2 separate regions of the Homo sapiens genome follow, and region 1 is linked to region 2. The links are contacts of gene promoters, found by promoter capture Hi-C in human tissues and cell types (Jung and others, 2019). All regions are on one chromosome and are shown on one strand. The core of a region is centred on a gene start or on the middle of the fragment in contact, and the rest is flanking DNA. Distances in the headings are between cores, read along the strand shown. Region 1 overlaps UQCRFS1-DT (UQCRFS1 divergent transcript). Region 2 holds the start of VSTM2B (V-set and transmembrane domain containing 2B).

What was found. The method cuts DNA at HindIII sites, captures the fragments that hold promoters and counts their contacts. A contact is called where the count stands out against the background at its distance.
Region 1: a fragment that was not itself captured here is called in contact with the fragment with the promoter of VSTM2B in region 2 in 1 of the 25 tissues and cell types used here (dorsolateral prefrontal cortex).

What each region holds. Positions count from the first base shown.
Region 1 is chr19:29,215,337-29,220,469 of GRCh38, reverse strand. It overlaps UQCRFS1-DT (UQCRFS1 divergent transcript), which reads right to left. Exons shown (of 2, transcript NR_184022.1): 2 at 4,655-5,133. Among named protein-coding and RNA genes, the nearest start is that of UQCRFS1-DT, 4.6 kb to the right of the region's middle. The HindIII fragment of the contact is 3,089 bases long and covers 1-2,814 here.
Region 2 is chr19:29,522,792-29,527,924 of GRCh38, reverse strand. VSTM2B (V-set and transmembrane domain containing 2B) reads right to left here and starts at 1,931. Exons shown (of 5, transcript NM_001146339.2): 1 at 1,260-1,931; 2 at 530-714. The coding sequence starts at 1,341. It overlaps VSTM2B-DT (VSTM2B divergent transcript), which reads left to right and starts at 2,175. Exons shown (of 10, transcript NR_040029.2): 1 at 2,175-2,501. The region is part of intron 1 of LOC124904683 (a long non-coding RNA gene); the gene reads left to right. The HindIII fragment of the contact is 17,468 bases long and covers 30-5,133 here.

The DNA.
Region 1 (5,133 bases), core at 21-2,520, 310 kb after region 2:
TTAATCAGCATACTTCATTATGGAATATCTGCACATTGACTCAGAAGGCTGGTTTAGTTCAGCCTGAGTTTTATTTTTATTTTATTTTATTTTTTTGAGACAGAGTTTGGCTCTTGTTGCCCAGGCTGAAGTGCAATGGCATGATCTTGGCTCACTGTTACCTCCACCTCCTGGGTTCAAGTGATTCTCCTGCCTCAGCCTCCCAAGTAGCTGGGATTACAGGCACCCGCCACCATGTCTGGCTAATTTTTTTTGTTTTTAGTAGAGACAAGGTTTCACCATGTTGCTCAGGCTAGTCTCGAGCTCCCTCAGGTGATCCACCAGCCTTGGCCTCCCAAAGTTCTGGGATTACAGGCATGTAATATCCTGCCCAGCCCAATTTGAGTTTTATTTTAAAGATGCTGGAGGTTTGCCATTACCTGCTTGTATACGTCACACAAAGTTCCTTCTTTTGTGAAAAATAATTGCAAAAAAAATAGGTGTGTGTACTTAAAAGCAGGTAAATGGATAAACTCAAGTGGTTCCTCAAAATTATGTTTTAACCGTAATCTTTTTCATGGAGGTTTTGCAACTTAATTTATTCCCAATATGCTTAGAAAAGTGCTCTCAAGATTCAGGGATGAAAAGGCCTTTGGGAAAATGGGTGCTACCTTCATTAGTACCTTGAAATACAAATTAAATCCCAAGCACATCACAATTTGCTTTCCTGCATCTACCAATTTTGAAATAGTACAAATAAAATGTCTTACTTACCTCGTGAATTTATTATTTCAGCTGTTCATGCTGGACACCTGGTGGTTTGATTTAACTTCCCTTAATGTTTTGGGGCATCATTAGGAGAGGGAAATGAGGACCTGTAATTGTGTGTGCAGACCCTGCAGGGGCCCTGGGTGGGCTGGAGCCTCCTTTCTGCTCCCCTTGCTCACATTCAAGGTCCCCAGGGCTGTCTGGGTTTGTCTTGGAGATTCAGGGAGCCAGCTCCTCCCCAGAGAGAAGAGGGCTCTGGTGGGCTTCCCTCTGCAAAGACAGAACGTGGGCATCAGTCTCTGGATCTCAGCTTCTCCTGATTGATGGGCAAAGCTTCCACAGAGGTGTTGAGCTGGGTTGCAGCTGAGTGGATCCAGCACTTCAGGCTTGAGAACAAGATGACTGAAGGTAGGGAGCCATAGGACCACTGAGAAGGCCAGAGGTGGAGGTGGGAGAGGGGCAGAAACTGACATTACCACCTTCTCTGTCCTCTACAAACTGCCCAAGGACTTTCAGAGCCATACTCCTTCAACTTATGCCCCACACCCCGAAATCTTCCTTCCCTCCAAAAAATGTTCATTTCTCCATCAACACAGTTCATCCTAGACCCGTCTGTCTCAGAGTACTCCTCACTCTGCAGGGAGAGCTGGGGGAAGTCCCTAACAGCACGCAGAAAGGATGGCAATTTGGAACACGGAGTGGATCACATGCCGAGGGCTTCCATGCAGTCACATGCTTACACACCTTCTACCTGCATCCTCACAGAGTCCTCCGGGAGTTCCAGCCAGCAGCTGAGCAGCCGGACGGCACCATCCTTGCTCCACTTCCCTGCTTGCTGGCTCTCATTGTCCTTATTCTTGGAGAAAGAAAGTCCAAATTCTTAGCACAGTGTGCAAAGCATGAGCCCTCCAGGTCAGGGCCTGAATTAGGTGATCTCTGAGTTCCCTCTGAGCCATAGCACCCTGTCCCACCAGCCCAGGACTCCCTGCCCCTCGTCCTTTCTTTCCTCCATAGAACGTACCACCATCTGGTATATTACATGTTTGGTGGTTGTCTAGCTTCCACCACTAAAATATAAGGTCCTGGGGGCCACACGCATTTGACTGCTGTGTTTGCTGCTGTCTCTCTCATCAGCAGTGGACACACAGGGTTGCATACAGTAGTCACTGTACACAAATCTTCTGAATGGATGAATGAATGGATGAATGATCCATCTCCAAGGGCCCTTAATTACAATCATAACCAACTAACTTAGCAATTTGAAAGCCTTCTTTCATCTTCACAACCAACTTTCGAGTTAGGTATTCTTATCTCCATCCTCAGACGAGGACACCAGGGCTCAGAGGGCGTCAGTCACTTGCCCAGGTGACTCCAGCAATGGGAGGACTTAGGATCACACTTAGGCCGCCTGACTCAAGAGCCCAGGCTCTTGCAAAGTATTTGAAACAAATGAGCTCAATTAATTCCACACATTTTCAGGGGGCACATAATACAATCCAGGTGTAAAAAACACTGGGGGACTTTTGGTGCTACTGCACCAGCCTGCTTGGCAAGAGATGGATGTGTGGCTGATAGGGAAACTGATAGGGTTTTCAACAAAGCCTGAAATTAATCATACTTAATGAATGTGACTAATGTGATGAAAGAATGAGCGATTAAAATATTAGCACATCTGAACTTCTCCTCCCTGGCTAATCTCCTCCCTAGGGTTATCATCTTTCAAAGAAGTAGGGGCACAGAATTACAGAAACGGGTTTTATGGAACACAAATGCCTTTTAAATGGCTTAGATTAAGGACAGTCTGTGCAGTTCTCAAGCGGCTGTCTGTCTTCACATCTCGCTGCTCAAGTGAGGGACGTGGGCTGTGGGGAGAGGCTGAAACTGTCAAGATGGCTGCAACTGGAAATGGGAAGCCAGGCATTTCCCGGGGTAATTGTGTGGAAACAGGAGACAGGCGTGGGGTCCCTTCAGCAGGGAGGCGGTTGCCTTTCTGTGTAGGCACTAGGTGAGATGAAAGTGGCTGGGAGGCATGTTCCCTGGGGATGAGGCAAAGGCATCTTACTGGCTTTGCACATTATGCAGGATCACAGGCAGAACTACCTAGGGACCAATTTTGTTTTGAGGATGACGAATGCAGAATCCCAGCACATTTGCCTTAGAGCTCCCCTCCCTATGCCCCCTCAACACACATTGCCCAGATGAACACATCAAGGCAGTAGGGAAGAGGGCTGGGGGCGGTGGTTTGCGCCTGTAATCCCAGCACTTTGGGAGGCTGTGGCGGGCGGATCATGTGAGGTCAAGAGTTTGAGATCACCCTGGCCAACATGGCGAAACCCTAACTCTACTAAAAATACAAAAATTAGCTGGGCATGGTGGCATGTGCCTGTGATCCCAGCTATTCGGGAGGCTGAGGCAGAATTGCTTGAACCCAGGAGGCAGAGGTTGCAGTGAGCCGAGATCACACCACTGCACTCCAGCCTGGGCAACAGAGCAAAACTTTGTCTCAAAAAAAAAAAAAAAAAAAAAAAAGACTGTAGGGAACAGGAAGTGTCTAGACTACAACTCACACTTGGAACTAGGAGATTCCCCTGCATATCAGTGTTCTGCTACTCTCCGGAATCAATCGATCATGCTTGTGCAAGGAATTATATAAACCTGAGGTCCCAAACTCGAGGCCTCAGCAGATGGGCAGGTAATGTAACTGAATGGACACAGTGGGAAAGGACCCAGACCACCAAGCAGGTACCTACCCTGGCTGACAGCACCCCACCGTCTTTCTCTTTGTTGAGGACATGGGCCTCGAGTGGCTTAAAATAATGCAATTTTATTATTTTACAATTCTGGAGGTCTGAAGCCTAACACAGGTCTGTAGGGCTGCACTTCTTCTGGAGACTCTAAGGGAGAAGGTTTCCTTTCCATTTCCAGCTCTATCTCTGCCTGCAGGTCCCTCCTCTGGCCCCACCCTCAAAGCCAGCAATGTGGCATTTCTGTCCTCTCACCTCTTGCTTCCCTCTTCTAAGACCCTATGAACATGCCGCACCCACCCGGACACTGCAGGAAGACTCTCTGATATGGTTTGGCTCTGTGTCCCCACCCAGATCTCACCTTGAATTGTTACAATCCCCTTGAATTGTAACAAGGGGGGGACCAGGTGGAGGTGATGGATCATGGGGGCGGTTTCCCCCATGCTGTTCTCATGACAGTGAGTTCTCATGAGATCTGACAGTTTTATAAGGGGTTCCCCCTTCGCTCTGCTCTTATTTTCTCTCCTGCCACCCTGTGAAGAGGTGCCTCCTACCATGATTGTAAATTTCCTGAGGGCGCCCCCCCAACCAGCCGTGCTGAGCTGTAAGTGAATTAAACCTCTTTTCTTTGTAAATTACCCAGTCTCAGGTATTTCTTCATAGCCGCATGACAACAGACTAATACACTCTCCCTATCTCAATCTCCAATCACAGCTGCAACATTCCTTTGCTGTGTAAAGTAACATATTCCCAGGTTCCAGGGATTAGGCTGTGGACATTTTTGTGGGGAGGCATTATTCCATCTACCACAGTTTGTATGTGGGAGTACTCACAATTTGTAAATGCTAGCAAATAATTCTGAGGTTCATAGCACTGTGTATGCCAGATCACCAGGTGTCTCTGGGCAGAAATGAGTGGGGAGAGAATGAATCTCCAGTCCATGACTTCCGACCTCTGATTTAAACAGTGTTTGTTAAAAGGAAGGCTTGGTGTCATGCTTCCTCCTGCCTTGTTCATACATACACATTGCGTGTCAGACTTCCAGGGAACTGAGAAGCTTACCAAGCATTTATGTTCCCAGGCCTGTGGCTATTTTTTTCCCTCAGTTTACAAAACTAACAATGTTTATTAAGCTCTCATTGTATGCCAGTGTGCTAAATATCTCACATGGATTCTTTCTTTTAATTTGCACAGCAATGTCATTTTTATCCCTGTTTTACAAATAAGAAATCTGACACTCAGTAACGTTGCCCGATGTCACACAGGTAGTAAGGGGCAGAGCTGCCATGAAGGCCAGGCTGTCTGGCTCCAGAGTGAGCTGATACATGAAAGCTAAAACCCCCTTCAGTTAAATAACAACCACTGAGGGGTTGCAGTGGTGTGTACCTGTAGTCCCAGCTACTCTGGAGGCTAAGGGAGGAGGACTGCTTCAGGCCAGGAGTTTGAGACCAGCCTGGGCAACACAGCAAGACCCCCATCTACCAAGTGGAACCCAGGTTGGCCTACAGAAGTCCAAGTTCCAGTATGCCTGCCACTCCTGGACATTGGCCTCCTTCTTCCACGAGAAGACAGCTGTTCGGCCATACAGTTACCCATCTCTCTGCTGCAACGCTGGACTCGAACACCACTACCAGATGCGTTC
Region 2 (5,133 bases), core at 682-3,181:
TAAGAGAGTGTGGGTTTTGAGGCAGACAGGCAGCGTGGGCCTGTTTTCGGCCACAGAGAAGTGGCCCCTCTGTGCCCCTGAGGGCTGGAGGTCCTGCCGGCTTTCCGGTACTCGGTTTTCTGGTGGCCTCTGGAACGCAGCCGTGGGAGCCCTGGGGTCCTCAAAGTGGCAGAGGGCGGGGAGAGCCTGATGGGACCAAGGGGGCTTCCTTCACTACCCAGCACCCATCAGAGGGCCGCAGCCAGCGAGCACGAGCAAGCGACCAGGCTGAGGTGTGGCTCTTTAGGGGCTGGGCGTGAATGGAGTTCTGGGAGGTGGTGGGAACAGCGATGCTGTCAAAATAATTGACAGGTTTGGGGGTAACCACTGCTGACTTTGAAGATGCTTTGGGATGCGAAGGTGGAAGATGGGCTGCGCCACAGGGCGGCGCCCTGCGCGAGTGAAGCCCGCTGCTTCCCTCCCTGGGTTAGCCTTCGCCGCCCCGGGCGCGAGCCGGGCGCGCGCCGGTACCGCGTGGGCGGCGGGTTACCTTGCTCCGGGCGCCCGGCACGCTGAGCGCCAGCTCGTGCAGCAGCTCCCGGGGTGGCTCCTTGAGGTACCACCACTGAATCTCCAGCGAATACGAGGTGGCTCCGCTGGCCCGGAACGCGCAGGGCATTTCGATGTCGTCTCCCTCCCGTACTGTCACATCTTTGGGGACTTCTGTGAATGCAGCTGGGGGTGGGGAGAGAGAGAGAGGCGTGACCAGCTGTAGGTCGGGGGCCTGGGGCAACCTAAAGCGAGGCAGTCGGTCTCTGGCTGGCTGGCCTTGTGCCCCCCACCCCGCAGCTGCTCCCTGGCGCACGGCCGGAGGGGCTAGCAAAGTTCGGGGAAGCGGCTGCAGGGCCGAGGCAGGGACCGGCCATCGGCTGCCTACTGCTTCCCTCCGGATGGGGCGGGGCGGCAGGGGCGACTCGTGCTTCTCCCCCGCCCCTGGCCGCACCGCCAGAGCCTGGCTGGGGCGCGCCTACTCCCGCTCCCCGCAGGCATCCTTTCCGCAGCCGGGGCCCCGGCGGGACTGGGAACGACTCGGGCGCGGCGCTGCTGCTGCGGCGACCCTTCGCCGCTCGCCTCTCCCTACCCCTCCGGGCCCAGGCTGCACAGCGGGATTGCTGGAGACCGCGAAGCTTCCCGGTTCGTTCTCTTTCTTCTTCTTCTCGGTGGCGGCCCCAGCAAAGACCCCCCCGAGTCCACAGCGGCAGCAAAGTTCCCGCGCTCACCGTCGGCCACGAAGAGCAGCAGGGCATGCAGCAGCAGAGGCGGCAGGTATCCGAGGGCACCGAGCCGGTTCCGCTGTTCCATCTCCCGCGGGGGGCGCGGTGGCGGCGGGGGCCCGGGAGCGGAGAGGCGGCGGCCGCGTGGGCTCGGATCGGCTCCGGCTCGGGCTAGGACGCCTCCGAGCCTGCCATGGCCCCGCGCGGCGCCCCCTCCCCTGGCCGCCGGCGGCCGCCAATCAGCCCCGCTCCCTCGCCGGCTTGCCCGGTGCGGCTCCGGCGGGGGGCGCTGCGCGGGGTGTGCAGGAGACGCGGTCCCACCGGGAGGCTGCTGGCGATCGGTCAGTGCCTCTCTCTGTCCGGTCGTCCACAGGACGGTGGGGATCCGCGGTTCAGTCTCTGCCCGGCGGGCCGGGCAGGGGCTGGGCCGCGCCGGGACCCATCCCTGGCCGAGGGAGTGCGTGCCACGGAGCCGCGAGCTTCTGCCTCCCTGTCTCCTTCTGGTTCTGCTCCCGATTGCCACCTCCTTCGGCTCCCGCAGCCGCCCCCGCCGGTTCCTCCGCGGCTCTTTCCGCAGGGCGAGTGGGCGCTCAGCCGCGGCGCGCAGACCTGGCGTCCGACCCAGCGCAGCGCGGGGAGAGCGGGTCCGGCGTGGCGGACCCGGAGCCGGAGAGAGGCGGGGAGAGGGGGAGGGGAGGGGAAGGGAGGGGGCGGTCAGTGGCTGGGCGCCAAGCCGCCTCCACCGCTGCATCGCCCCCGCCCTCCCCTCTCCTGCCACAGCCCGCCCCGCCCCCGCCCCAGAGCGCTCCCCCTCTCTCCTCGGGGGTCGCTCGGAGGGACCACCGTCTTTCTGGTTGGAGTACAGCCCCGCCCCGCACCCGCTTGGGTTGGGAGTCCTCCCACCCAAACTCTCCCTGGCTTCTTCCCAGTCTGCACGGCTCGAGACGGCCGCTCATCCCTGCTCCCCGTGTGTCCCTCGGTCCTCTCTGCAGCTCCCAGCCCTCAACTCCTTACCCCAGTTTGGGCAACCAGCTGCCCCGCTGTTTGGCCCAGGCCTGGGCCATGACGGATGGGTGGGCGCCCGGGGCCGCGAGAAGGGCGGAACGCTGTGCCCAGCCGGAGACTACGCTGGGTGGCGGCGGCAGCGCCGGGAGTCTGCAGTGCGCGAGGGAGAAGTGAGCGCACAGCGCCCAGCGAGCAGGTGCCTGCGGCGCGGAGAGCGCACACGCTAGCCAGCCCGCAGCGGCCGTGAGTGACGGCAGGGGCGGCGGGGGTGGGGTGGGGTGGGGAGCGCCGGGCACGACTCAGGGCCCGGGAGGTTTCCGGGAGGGGGCGGGGTTCCTGCCCCTGGATCGCGGGTCCCTGTGTCTCCACGCGCTCTTCGCCGGTCGTGGCCCCTTCTTTGCCCGGTGCAAAGCGAGATGCCGAGGCGGCAGGAAGCCGGAACCCATCCCCCGCCTGCTCTGGCGTACTCGGCATCCCGGTACCTCCCCCAGCCTTCACCCGGAGTCTGCTCCCTCCCCAGCCATCTGAGGGAGCGCGGTCTGGTCCCCGAAGGCAAATGCGGGGTGGACATGTGGTTCGGACGCAGCGCGTAGTCATAGTCATAGGGGCGAGTCCTAAGGCTCGCCTTGGGTCTCTCCTATCTCCTTCCCCCGGGAGTCCCCAGCTAGTGCGTTTCGGCACCTCTGCCCCTACCCCGGCCCCTACGCCTCAGCTCTGACCTCAGGTTGGGGTGGGGCAGCCCGGTGGATTCACGTGCCTGCTTCCCCGGCTACCAGCCTCCCGGAGGCACCGCCAGAGGATTCCCTGGGAGCCAAGGAGAAGGAAACCCAGAGGGAAAACACTCTCCAGCAGCCACCCTGGTCCAGGCGGCCAGCGCAGCACAGCTCAGAGGGGAGGAGCTGCAGGCCCTCTCCAAGGCTGTCCTCGCCAGCGGGTGCCCGGGGCCAGCCCTTCTTGCCTCCAGTGCCTGCCTTTCAGTTTCCTCGTCTATGGCCCAGGAGTCACTCCCACCCCCTGGCTCACTGTGGCTCATCTATCAAGCCCTTGTTTTCTAAGGTCTCCTGCTGGGGGCAAAGGGAAGAAGGGGGTCCTATAGGACTTTCCTCCTTTCCCTCAAGTTCCTCTCTAGGGGCTCCACAGAGGCAGTTGCCAGCTCCTTCTGTCATGGCAGGAGCTTTTCCTAGGAAATCCCATGTGCCCTTAGAAACCACTTTGGACCCCCGAATGTAAGACCCTGCCAGGCCCCATTGCTGTCCTCAGCTTCTGAAGGGAGAGGGCAGACTTGCACCGCTCTATGCAGATTCAGGACCACAGCGGGGTTCCAGGAAAGCAGGCTCATTTGGGGACTGATTCCAAGCAGGGTTCTGAAGAAAGAGCTAGCCCACTGCGCAGTGGCCCACCTGGAGAGGTAGCAGTCTCCTTTCCTGATGCCAGATCCAAGCAGAGGCTAATGCTGGAGACCAGCGATGCCCGTGGGAGAATCCCTGTAGCTAGAGGGAATTATCTGGAAGTAATTTATCCCTGTACCGCCTTGTGGGGTTGGGTGTTTCTTGCCCACTGCATGAGTTGGTATTACTCTAAGAGCGACAGATACATGTTTTCACATGCTTTCCATGTACTAGACACTTTCTAGGCATCAGTTCTCAACATGACAAAGAGATCCTTCTCAGGGAAATCAGATCCCTCTTCCACTGCTGAAAAACCCCACAGTGGCTCCCATTTCACTTGGCATAAACACCAGTGGCCTTGCAGTGGCTGCCAAGGTCAAACCATCTGCCTTTCTGCTTCCTGCTCACCCTTTTCCTTCATCTTCTCATCTTTTCTGTCTTCTCCATAGCTCACACTCCCCTAGCCACACTGTTCTCCTTCCTACAATGCAGCACACTGGGCATGCTTCTACCCCAGGGCCCTTGCACCAGCCGCACCATCTGGTTGACATGCTTCTCCCACAGATACTTGCTTGGCTAACTCCGTTGTGCTCTGGTTTTTGTCAAGCAGTCACCTTCTCCATGAGGCCCACCTGGGCCACCATATTTAACACTGCAGTCTACACTGCCTCTCCTCCCACCACCCAGCACTCCCAGGCCCTCACTCTGCTTCCTTTATTTTTTCCATTTCGCCAGCCATCTTCCAACACATGGGACCACATCCTTATTTATTGAGTGTCTTGTTGCAGGTCTCTAAGACTGTGCCTGCCTTGTTCACTGATGTATCTCTAGCGCCTACAACAGGGTCGGGCACAGAGTAGGAGCTCAGTAAATACTTGTGGAATGAATGAATGAGCTCATTTTACCTCAATCACAACTCCAGGGGTAGACATGGTGATTTCACTCCATTTTATGGTTGAAGCTCAGAAGCTTACGGAACTTGCCCAAGGTCACATAGTTAGTAAGTGGCTGAGTGACGCATCAACCCAAAGCCTGTCTTACTCTGGGGTCCTGGATCTTAACCAAAACACTAAGCTCTTCCCTCCTCCAGGTGAGCCCCTGGTCCTGATGCCTCGAGTTGGTGTGGAGAGCAAGGCCCTACCCTTGACTGATGGGAGCAAGGAGCAGCCTGAGCTAGACTTGTAGTCTCTTTCCTGTCTGTTCAGCTTGGTCTATCTGTTTTCTGCCCTGCCTTGTAGACTGTGATGAGAGCAGCTGACCCACCTTCACTATGGTTTTTTTTTTTTTTTTTTTTGACACGGTCTTTTTCTGTTGTCCAGGCTGGAGTGCAGTGGCACGATCTTAGCTCACTGCACCTCAACGTCCTGAGCTCAAGCACCTCAGCCTCCAGAGTTATCATGCTGACACCAGGAGGATTAGCCCACCATGCCTTGCTAATATATATATATTTTTTTTGTAGAGATGGGGTGTTGCTATGTTGCCTAGGC